Regions from separate parts of the Homo sapiens genome. Here region 1 is linked to region 2. Evidence: promoter capture Hi-C in 16 types of primary human blood cells and fetal thymus (Javierre and others, 2016). All regions are on one chromosome and are shown on one strand. Each heading gives the region's core, a stretch centred on a gene start or on the middle of the fragment in contact. The rest is flanking DNA. Distances are from core to core; before and after follow the strand shown.

Region 1 (7,486 bases), core at 1,379-3,878, 160 kb after region 2:
GACAGTTGCATAGGGGTATCTTGGCCAAAGGGGGTATCTTTCAGTGGCTAGAAGTTGTAGCAGGTGGTCCTCCCACTGCCTCTCCCATAACCTCATACACCTGATTATGGCATCAACCGCACTGAATGAACATGGTTTCTGCTGCACTGTGAGCTCCTTTTCAAAGCCAGGAAATGTGCCTTTTTTTCCCTCTGTTTCTTGTAGTAAAAGCTCAGAGCCTAGTACAGTGGGCACCAGGGTAGTTGACACAGCAGAGCAGTTAAAAGCTCAGGCTCTGAAACCAGACACCTGAGCTTGAATCCTAGCTCTGTCACATACTAACAAGTCACATGACCTCTTTGAGCTTCAGTTAACTCATGTGTAAAATTAGGAAAAGTATATCTGATAGGGTTGCGGGGAGTGTTAAATGATGTACTATACTTGACATCTAGTGAAACTTCTGATGTTAGCTATTGTTAAAAATATCATCGTCCAGGTGGAGGCTGTAAACAAAGGCAAGCAGGTGGGAAAGTGCTGGAGGAGGTGGTTCAGGGAACTGGAAGGAGCCCAGCAGGCCTGGAGGTAGATTACTATTAGAAGCCAGGGGTAGCTGAGGTCAGATTGTAATTGGTTTTGGAGATGGAGTGTGGAATTTTGATTTTATCCTATAGGGGATTGTTTCTAACTACCATGCACTTTACTTCTTCGAAACATTTTACTGGGTAGCAAAACTTTTCGCTGAAGATCCTTACTTCTAAACACCTATACGTTTAAACTTCCTGACCCTGCTTGAGTACTCATGTCATCGATCCAGCTCTGCTAAGGTCCTTTCCCTCAGTGACGGCTACTCTCTGACCCCTGCTTTTCACCTAACAGTCTAAAAGTGCAAGGGACTCTTCTGTGGCCATATTCCCAGTTCTGTCCAGTCGTCCTTTACTCCTACCCTATTTCTAAGAGCAGAGGAATGGAGAGGCCCTGTGCAGCACAGGAAGGCATTTGGGCCCAGCCTGGATAGTGAGGAGGGGATTGCGGGGGAGTAATGAGGTGGTGCTCAGTTCCCTACTCAGTTACACCTTCCAGCTCCTTTCCAACTCCCTAGGCTGGGAATGCTTCCTGGCATAAAAGTTGAGATTTGGGACCCCTTCTCTGTTGTGCACACACACAGGTGTGCTCACTGCTCACATGCACAGAAAAACAAGTGCCACTTTGTCTGTCCTGGTGAGGGGGCTGAACTTCCTCATAGTTTTTTTTTTTTTTTTTGAGACAGGGTCTCTGTTGTCCAGGCTGGAGTACAGTGCTATGATCACAGCTCACTGCAGCCTTGACCTCCTGTGCTCAAGCAATCCTCCTACTTCAGCCTCCCGAGTAGCTGGGACTACAGGCGCATGCCACTATACCTGGCTAATTTATTTTATTTTATTTTTATTTTTAGTAAAGACGGGGTTTCACTATATTGTTTGGGCTGGTCTGGAACTCCTAGGCTCAAGCTATCCTCCTGCCTTGGCCTCTGAAAGTGCTGGGATTACAGGCATGAGCCACTGCACCTGGCCTCCCCATTGTTTCAGAGTGGGGAATTGAGAGGGAACACCTGGTATAGCTCCACTCTCTTCCAAACACCTGCTACTTCTATAGCAGTCCTCCTCTTGCTTCTACTTCCACCTGCCCTCTATGTCGCCACTGCTAGGAGCCTGGCTCAGATTTCTAAGTTGAATTTCTGCTTCTCTTACTCTGGAGTCCTTAGGGCTGGCATGGGCTGGGCTCCCTGATGAGGTCTGATCCCCCTCCTCCTCTCAGTACATGGGGATTGGGGTCCTCACGACATGACCGTTTTCTCTTTTGGACACTTCTATGGTGGAGGATGAGGCAGACCTCACTGAGTGGAACCAGCATCAGTTGACAGAAGACAAAAAACATTTTGTGATTCTGAATTAATAATTTGATTTGTATATATTATGTCCTTGTGTAATTGTCTAAGCTTCCAGTTTTATCAGCTCTTCTGTGAAAACTCCCTCATTCCCTTAGGCAGAATGTTAAATCACATTCTTCTCAGTTCCCTCAGCCTTTTGCTATAGTACTTTTCATACTTTACTGGAATCACTGGTTTGTTTTTGTTTTTGTCTGGTTTTGTTTTGTTTTATTTTGGTTTAAGTCTTTCTCCCCCACTAGACTGTGAGATCCCTGAAGTCAGGGATCTACTTTCAGATACCATGGTATAGGAGAGAGATGTTAAGGACCAAACTAGGACACCAGCAGATTCTAGAGATATTAAGGAAGCAAGAATGGCAGATTTTGCTAAATCGTCAAATGTCAAGAATGGCAGGACTTTGTGGACTGGGTAGATGGTGTTGCCATTCAGGAGCAGGCCCAGGTTTAAGTTGATGAATTCACTTTTGCAGATGTTTGAGATAGCTATGCGGCATTCAAGTGGAGATGTCCAGTTCAGGTCTGAGATTGAGCTGGGGAGTTCATTCATTTGTTGAATGCCTACTATGTGCCAAATGCCATATCAGTGCTGCAAGTGCAGCAGCAAACAAAACAGATGCAGTCCTTATGCCATGCGAGGCTTACATCCTTAGAAGGGGACACCGATATTTAACAGTTATTTAGCTGCAAAGTGATAATTGTTATGAAGAGAGCTGTAAAGCATATATCCTGGTGACCTAAGTTTATATGTGCATATTGATTTGGTAGGGCGGAGGGTGGTACTTGGTCATTAGTCTTCTCTGAAAAAGTGACCTGGAAATTCTAAGAATGGAAAGATGAGTAAGAGTTGGCCAGGTGTCAGGGGTGGGATAGGCTGGGACTGGAAGAACAAGACATCCCAAAGCCTCATCAGTATTGAGCCAGAACCTGAGCTGCTCAAACTGGAGGGGCATTACCTCACCGCTAAACTGTACCTTTTAGTGCCCCCTCACTTCTACTATTTAGCTCGTGGAGCTCATGGTATCTCCCTTCTCATACTGATGAGTGCTGTCCTGCCACAGGGGACCACTGCAGAACCCAAGAGCTGTGCTGGTCAGCCAGAGAAGAGCTTAGTAGAAGGTCCACATTAGAAGAAAGTGATGCCTGTTGGTGGGACCAGTTTAAACAGCCCTGCAGGACTAAGAGATGGAGTTGGGGTGGGGCCGGGGCGGGGAGACCAGTCCATTAAGGAAGGCACAGATTTGAATCCAAGAGCAAGGCCAATGCCCAGAACTTGAGTTCTCCAAGGCTGCTCCTGGCTCTCGTTCATCTTGTGTCCCCAGAGCCTATAACAAAGCAGAGTGTATGAGACTTATGTAGTGAGTAATGTTTTGACTATGAAGGAAAAGCCAGAAAGCTTAGCTAAAGTGGGAAGGAGGATTAAAGGAGGTGCTTTTGGGATGGGGAGACCTGAGCATATTGGGCAGCTAAATTAGAGGAGGTTGGAGAAGGGAGAGGTTGAAAGGTTCACTCTGTGTAGGAGGAAGGTTTCCTTGTCAGCCCCATAGCCTGAATGGACTAATTCTTGTATACTTTCTCCTCTCTCACCTACCCCATTCCAGTCTGCTACTAAGTCTCATGAGCCTACCTCCTACATATGTCTTGAGTCCATCTGCGTCCCTCCAGCCAATTTCCTTGGTCCAAGCCATCATCATTTCTCAACTGGAATACTGCAACAGCCTCTGACTGGGCAGCTAGCTTGTAGTCTTGACTTCTCCCTACAGCCAGAATGTTCTTTCTTAAAAGCAAAATTGATCTTGTCACTGCTATGCCTAGAAATGTTAAGAAACTCCTCATTACACCCAGGATAAAACATAATTCCTTCTTTTGTTCACCTGGGTGCTCCCTGCAGTCCAGCCACACTGGACAAGTCCTCAAGTGGTGCCCATACTGGACTTTGTGCCTTTTACAATCTGTTCACTCTGCTTGAATGCCTTTCCTCTTCCTTTCCTGGCCGAATTTGGTTTATGTGGCATCCTCATTAGGCTATTTGTTCAGACATCTTCTTCTCTTGGAGCCTTTTCTCACCATTCCCCTTCATCCCTTCATGTTCTCACAATCCCATTCATATCTCTGTTGCATTGCCCCAGACCTGCTGCCATGTTTGATTTTGTCAGTAAGTGCTTGTTGAATGACTGAATAAATGGTGGTGGGGGGGTCTCCTCCCTCAGGATCCTACTCCCTTCTGTCTGTGCCCACAGTGTCTCCCCTCCTACCTGCTCCCTCCCCTTGCTCCTCTGCTCCAGGTTTTCTCCAATGAGGGCCAGTTCAAGTTCCGTTTTGGGGTCCGAGGACGCTCACCTGGGCAGCTGCAGCGCCCCACAGGTGTGGCAGTGGACACCAATGGAGACATAATTGTGGCAGACTATGACAACCGTTGGGTCAGCATCTTCTCCCCTGAGGGCAAGTTCAAGGTGAGAGGCCTGCTGTCACTTTACTTACCCTGGTGTCCAGCTGAACTGACCAGTCTAGTGCCTCTTGGTGGTCAGGGTCTGGACTGATCCAATCCTACCTCCTCCTACTCCCTGTTCTTTCCCCAGCCCAAGATTCTGCTTTGGTACTGGGTTAGGACTACTTTCCCCACTGTCAGAATAAAGCCTCTTATGGATATTCTCTTCCTCCAGACCAAGATTGGAGCTGGCCGCCTCATGGGCCCCAAGGGAGTGGCCGTAGACCGGAATGGACATATCATTGTGGTCGACAACAAGTCTTGCTGCGTCTTTACCTTCCAGCCCAATGGCAAACTGGTTGGCCGTTTTGGGGGCCGTGGGGCCACTGACCGCCACTTTGCAGGTATAGGGGGACAGCTCCAAGATCTATGCTGATACCCCTGTTCCAGAGAACTCCCCTAGATACCCCAGCTGTAAAGGCCCTCTCCTCCTATATCTTGGCTCTGGAGATCCCACTTCCCTTACGTTAGCCCTATCATCTCAGAAATAATTTGTCTCAGTCCTGGAGACCCCACCCCTCTCCTAACACCCTAGCTTTTATCTTCCCAGATACTCTTCCCCATCCCACTCAGCATCCCAGCTTACTGCCCTGAAGACCACTTTGTATTTTCAGGGCCCCATTTTGTGGCTGTGAACAACAAGAATGAAATTGTAGTAACGGACTTCCATAACCATTCAGTGAAGGTCAGTGTCTTCCCTCCCTCCGTGACCACTGTCCCAACATCCTTTCCTCTTCCACAAGACTCCTCTCTATTTTACCTCCTCCTTTTCCCCTTTGAGATCATTCACTCAAACAATACACATTTACACATTTATGCATGGCTGCTTTGTCCCAGGCAGTATGCTAGAAGCTGGAGATACAGTGATGCACAAAGCAAATGTATTCTGTGTCTTCTTGATTATAGTCTAGTAGGGAAGAGAAAAAGGTAACCAAAAAATTACAATATGATGTAATAGATTCTGTGATAGGAAGGTGCAGGGAACTGTGGGAAGGGATACAGAAGTGTATGATTCAGGAAAGACTATATGAGGAGGACCTCAAGCACAAGTGGGAATTAAATGGAAGGCAGAGGAGGACGAGAGTGTTTGAGACAAAAGACACAGGAAGAGCCAAGAATGCAAGGTGGGAACCTTAATAGTGTGTTCGAGAAATCACAAGTAGTTCAGACTCAGCTTGAGGAGGGGACCGTGAAAGCTGAGAGTGAGGCTTGTGTGCCCCCTTAAGGGGCTTGCTCTCCTCCCAAGAGCTATGGGGAGTCACAGGATTGCAGGCAGGGGAGTGATGCAGTCCTGTGTGTCTTAGATCACTCAGGCTGAGGCAAGACTGAGACAGGAAGATCAATCTTTTGCAGTGATCCAGATGAGAAATGATGTGAGCCTGGACCGTGAGAAAGACGAGACAGTGTATGCATAGGGTATAGACTTGAGAGAGGGATTTGAGATGGAATCAAGAGTTGTGTTAATTCATTGGCCTATCAAACAGAGAAGAAATTGGAGTCAAGAGTGACTCATGGCCAGCTGGGTGGCACCAGTCATTGAGATAGAGAACTAAGAGAACTGATTTCCCAAAGAAAATGAGCTGTTAGATTTGATATTCCCAATGGACATCAGCAAGAGATGTCTACTAGGCAGTAGGGCACATGGATGTGAAGCCTATGAAGCAGATTTGGGCTGTAGCTGTAGATCTGGGTGGGGGTTCTCAGCCCTGGGGCTTCACCCTATCCTCCTCCAAAGCCCTACCCTCTGCCTGAGGCCAGGTCCCCAGTCCCTAGCCCCTTCCCCCGCCAGGTGTACAGTGCCGATGGAGAGTTCCTCTTCAAGTTTGGCTCCCATGGCGAGGGCAATGGGCAGTTCAATGCCCCCACAGGAGTAGCTGTGGACTCCAATGGAAACATCATTGTGGCTGACTGGGGCAACAGCCGCATCCAGGTGAGTAAGGCCTGGGAATGACATGAGGGGGCGGTTTCCTGGTGTGTCCCATATGCCCGTTCCCCCAAAACAGACTCTCATCTGCCTGATCTTGCCTCTCCCTCCTTTCTGCACTCCTTCCCCAGGTATTCGACAGCTCTGGCTCCTTCCTGTCCTATATCAACACATCTGCAGAACCACTGTATGGTCCACAGGGCCTGGCACTGACCTCGGATGGCCATGTGGTGGTGGCTGATGCTGGCAACCACTGCTTTAAAGCCTATCGCTACCTCCAGTAGCTGTACAGAGGCCCTGCCTGGCTTGTGGAGGGACAGACATTGGGGTGATTGGACAAGAGGGTCTGGCTGGGAGGTGGGCCAGACCTGGCAGCACTGAATGTGGGCTGTGGGCATGGGTGCACCCGGTGCCCTCCCTCTCCTACCCCCACCCCCACGGTTGCACTTTATTTATTCGGTTCTTGCTTTGGTGACTGGGTGAGCCTGGACTGTGGTCCCAAGGATGTGTGCAGAGCTTCACCCTACCCTTCTTACACACCTCCCCACCCCTGTCAGTCTGCTCCCCATCCCCCAGCCTGGGGCCAGAACAGCCTACCCCAGGACAGGAGTCCCTCTAGTTGTCTCCCTACCACCCTATACACACTGACAGAGACAGCAATACCCCACCCCCCATATTAAATAAATGTCTTCACCAAGATGTTTTTGCTGGGTTCTTGTGGGGTGGGGCTGCAGTGAGGAGATGGGATGGTGGGACTAGCTCTGGACTAAAAGGTGGGCAAGCAGGCAGGCAAGGGACCCAGCTTCCCAAGCAGGTCCTGATATTTTGAAACTTCCGTAGAGAAGAGCAAGAAAGGGTGAACCCATGGGACCCTGACCCACCTGCCATATCCCCATCCCCAGGCCCTACAGAAGTAGGCAAGTCCTTTGCCTATCTGCCCTGGGGCTGGGAAGGATTGTGGGGTTGGGGGGGTGAGGGAATGACCTCTGCCCAGCACACAGCCAGTAGGTGCAGAGAGAACAGTGTCAGGCTATGAAAGCAATCTTTGAAGTTCAAGCCTGGGCAAGGGAATTGAGGCTAGCCCAGGTGGTAGCTACGTGTGGGAGACTCCATGGCTAATTTTAAAAGTCATCCCTGAATCCCTGGAGCCCTGACATATCCCCTTTCTCACA
Region 2 (3,594 bases), core at 846-3,345:
ATTTTTTGAATGCCTCTCCCTCCGCATCTCATCTTTCTCTTTTCAATCAGGCTTTTCCAAAGGGTTGTATACAGACTCTGTGCACTATTTCACTTGATATTCATTCCCCAATTCACTGCAAGGAGACCTCTACTGTCACCGTTTACTCTTTCCTACCCTGACATCCAGAAACAATGGCCTCCAGTGCATACTTCTCAATCTTTGCTTTATGGCCTTTCCATCATAGTTGCCCACTCCCTCTCCTTACTTAGCTTCCAGGTCTTAACTTCTCTGACTACTCTTGTCTTCCTCTCTCATCAATTTCTGCTTCTTCATGGAATGCTGACCTTCATTGCTCCATTTGTAGATTTTTGCTCTTCTCAGTTTACTCATTGTCCCCTGGAACAAATCACTGACATCTACAACCATTACCATCTCACTAAATAAGACTTTCTATCCAATAATGATTGATACCTCAAATGTAAGATGCGTGATACTCAACATTTCATCGTCCACCTTCCCAACCCCAAACAATTCCATCTCGTTTCTTCTTGGTAAATGATGCTATGCTTTTTCCAACCAAGCCAGAAACCTGTGTCATCTTTTCACCCCACCTTCAATCAACAAGTCCTCAATCAACAAGTCCTACTGACTGCACATCTTAAATATATCTTTATCAGTCCACAAGTCCTTCCAATTATATTTCCCAAGTATATCTAGAACTTATCCACTTATATCCCCACTGCTACTACCTTAGTTTAGGGCTATATTCTCTTGAAAAAAAGTGTCCTTACTTCCTGCCAATCCCCAAGTCATCTTCCAGAGTAAAATGCAAATCCCATCAGGCCACTTGGATGAAAACCCTTCAAGGATTACTGGATAGAATTCAGGCTTTCCCCTCCAGCCCCCAATCATAGCTCACAAACCTTCCTTGCTATTTGTTCTTAAGTAAAAAATCATTTTTCCTCCTCCCTCCCCAAACCCCAAGGAACTCTCACTCTTGCTCAAGCTGTTCCGTCCCCTTACCACCCCTGATACAACTGCCAGGTTAATTTCCAGAATTCTTGCAAGACTCAGTTCAGAAGTCACCTTCTTTCGTGAATGTTTTGATTCCCTGAGGCTACTTTATTTTGGTATGGCTGAAAAATCCTAGATTTTCTAAACAAAACCTGTTTGAATCTTGGTTCTGATATGGACTAGGAGAGAGACTGGGTCAAGTAAGCTTATCTCCCTGAGGCTGTTTCCTCGTCTGTTAAGTGTGAATATCAATACCTGCCTTTCATAATCACCAGGGAATAAAGTGGAATAATGTTGATAACAGTGCTTGGCACCTGGAAGTAGGTGGCAGATGTTAACGCCCTTCCTCCCTTGCACTGCGCCCCCTGTGCCTACCTCTAGCATTGTAACGACCACGTAGTATTGAAATGGCCAGTTTACTTGTCTGCCTTCCTTTCCAAGACCGTTGGTGCCTAGAGGACTAGAATCGTGTCCTATTTAACTTTGTGTTCCCAGGTCCTAGCTCAGGAGTTGGCAAATAAGAATTAAATGTCTGCTACACCGAAAACCTCACGCCTCTCATTCGTTGTGATTTTTGCATATGTTGTTGACTCAGGCTGAAACTCCTCCTCCTCCTACAGCAGCACTGTGTGCCGCCCCACTGCTGCCCCCACCTCTCGGGGCAGCTGGCGGAGAAGAGAGGGGGCTTTCCAAATCCACTATGAATCCTTAAAAGGCTGAATAAGGGAACTTGAAACGATGCAGACAGGCAGGCAACCCGTAGTCGAGGGACATAGGGCCATAAACGTCGAAGCCAGGTCTTGAGCGTCAGACAGAATGAGGTGTCCCAGAGCGGCGGAGGAGAGCCAGACGCACGCTGGTTCCGGTCTGGACGGAATCGCCGCGGAGCACGGCAGAGGCTAGGGCGGAATGGCTACGGCAGCGCAGTTCGCCAAGGCTCGGTCTCCGCCCTGCAGCCTATTTCCTCTAACCCGCAGATCCACTATGGGAGGAGGCGGGGAGCGGGCTGGAGAGCACTAACAGAGACAGGCGGGGCGAGTCGTGGGCGCGTGACGTCACCCCGGGGTGTGCGCGGCGCGAGCGGAAGCGGAAGCGGCTCTGTTCGCCGCCTCTCCCACCGGCCCGATGAGCTGCAGCGGCTCCGGCGCGGACCCCGAGGCGGCGCCGGCCTCCGCCGCCTCGGCCCCGGGCCCCGCGCCCCCGGTCTCGGCTCCCGCCGCGCTGCCCTCCAGCACCGCCGCGGAGAACAAGGCCAGCCCCGCGGGGACAGCGGGGGGACCTGGGGCTGGAGCAGCTGCTGGGGGCACGGGACCCTTGGCGGCGCGGGCCGGGGAGCCAGCTGAGCGGCGTGGGGCGGGTGAGGGCCGGGACGGGTGAGGGCGAGGGAAGCGTCTTGGGCTGGGTCCAGCGGCGGGTGAGGGCAGAGGGTATAGACAGACCTAGCTGGGGCCCTGCGCCTCCCACCTCTGTGTCTCATTTTGCTGGTTCTCCTCCAGCTCCGGTGTCGGCGGGTGGCGCGGCGCCCCCGGAGGGGGCCATATCTAACGGGGTTTACGTACTGCCGAGCGCGGCCAACGGAGACGTGAAGCCCGTGGTGTCCAGCACGCCTTTGGTGGACTTCTTGATGCAGCTGGAAGATTACACGCCTACGGTGGGCTTCCGCCCGAACAAGGCCACCTAGCCTGCTGTCAAAACTTTCAGCCACATCGTGCTTTTCAGCGTTCTCTTCCATTTGCTCCCCTAGTCGCTCTTCTGTGTTTGCCCTCTGCTCACCCAAACTGTGAGCTTCCTGATAATCAGGCCTATCCATTTCCCTCACCCTCCTCCCGCTCTGCTGACAGTTCTCTTAATTGATTTCTCAGATCCCAGATGCAGTGACTGGTTACTACCTGAACCGTGCTGGCTTTGAGGCCTCAGACCCACGCATGTGAGTAAACCCAGGGCAGGTTAGTTTTGGGTGCTTGTGCAGTATGTTGTCCATCTCCTTCTCATCTAAGTTTTTTCTCTCTAGAATTCGGCTCATCTCCTTAGCTGCCCAGAAATTCATCTCAGATATTGCCAATGATGCCCTACAGCACTGCAAAATGAAGGGCACGGCCTCCGGCAGCTCCCGGAGCAAGAGCAAGGTGTGAGGGGAGGCTTAATGAATCAGTAATTACCTTCCACAACAGTGGAGGCTTATCCTGCCACCCCTTTGGGGAAACTGAATCGTAGGGGAGGTGTAAGACTTACTCAGGGTCACCCATCTGGGATTGAAGTCCGGGATTCCTGTGCTCAGTTGGTGCTCTTCCCTCTTCCCTCAGGACCGCAAGTACACTCTAACCATGGAGGACTTGACCCCTGCCCTCAGCGAGTATGGCATCAATGTGAAGAAGCCGCACTACTTCACCTGAGCCACCCAACCTAAATGTACTTATCTGTCCCCATGTCCCCACACCAGCCTGTTTTCATAATAAACTTTATTGTGACAGGCGGGGCTGATCCCTCCCATGTTGGGAGACACCATGTGGCAAGTGACAAAGCTCTGAGCCCGCCCCTCTTGGGGCCACAGTGGTAGGGATGGGGGAAGGGGATGGACCCCATGGCTGGGGTAGTACC

Evidence for each region. Contacts are between HindIII fragments. The CHiCAGO score rates a contact against its expected background, and 5 or more counts as called.
Region 1: a fragment that was not itself captured here is called in contact with the fragment with the promoter of TAF10 in region 2 in 1 of 17 cell types (non-activated CD4 T cells); the score reaches 5.8 in non-activated CD4 T cells.

What each region holds. Positions count from the first base shown.
Region 1 is chr11:6,448,140-6,455,625 of GRCh38, reverse strand. TRIM3 (tripartite motif containing 3) reads left to right here. Exons shown (of 12, transcript NM_033278.4): 8 at 4,188-4,355; 9 at 4,566-4,734; 10 at 5,005-5,075; 11 at 6,180-6,320; 12 at 6,446-7,013. The coding sequence ends at 6,598. Among named protein-coding and RNA genes, the nearest start is that of HPX, 11 kb to the right of the region's middle. The HindIII fragment of the contact is 1,344 bases long and covers 1,957-3,300 here.
Region 2 is chr11:6,610,717-6,614,310 of GRCh38, reverse strand. TAF10 (TATA-box binding protein associated factor 10) reads left to right here and starts at 2,095. Exons shown (of 5, transcript NM_006284.4): 1 at 2,095-2,353; 2 at 2,493-2,647; 3 at 2,859-2,923; 4 at 3,008-3,122; 5 at 3,300-3,594. The coding sequence starts at 2,122. The coding sequence ends at 3,389. TPP1 (tripeptidyl peptidase 1) reads left to right here. Exons shown (of 13, transcript NM_000391.4): 13 at 1-1,543. It overlaps ILK (integrin linked kinase), which reads right to left. Exons shown (of 13, transcript NM_004517.4): 13 at 3,441-3,594. RefSeq lists enhancers at 1,619-1,668, 1,719-1,848, 2,304-2,891, 2,892-3,480 and silencers at 2,139-2,238, 2,249-2,448. The HindIII fragment of the contact is 6,165 bases long and covers 1,204-3,594 here.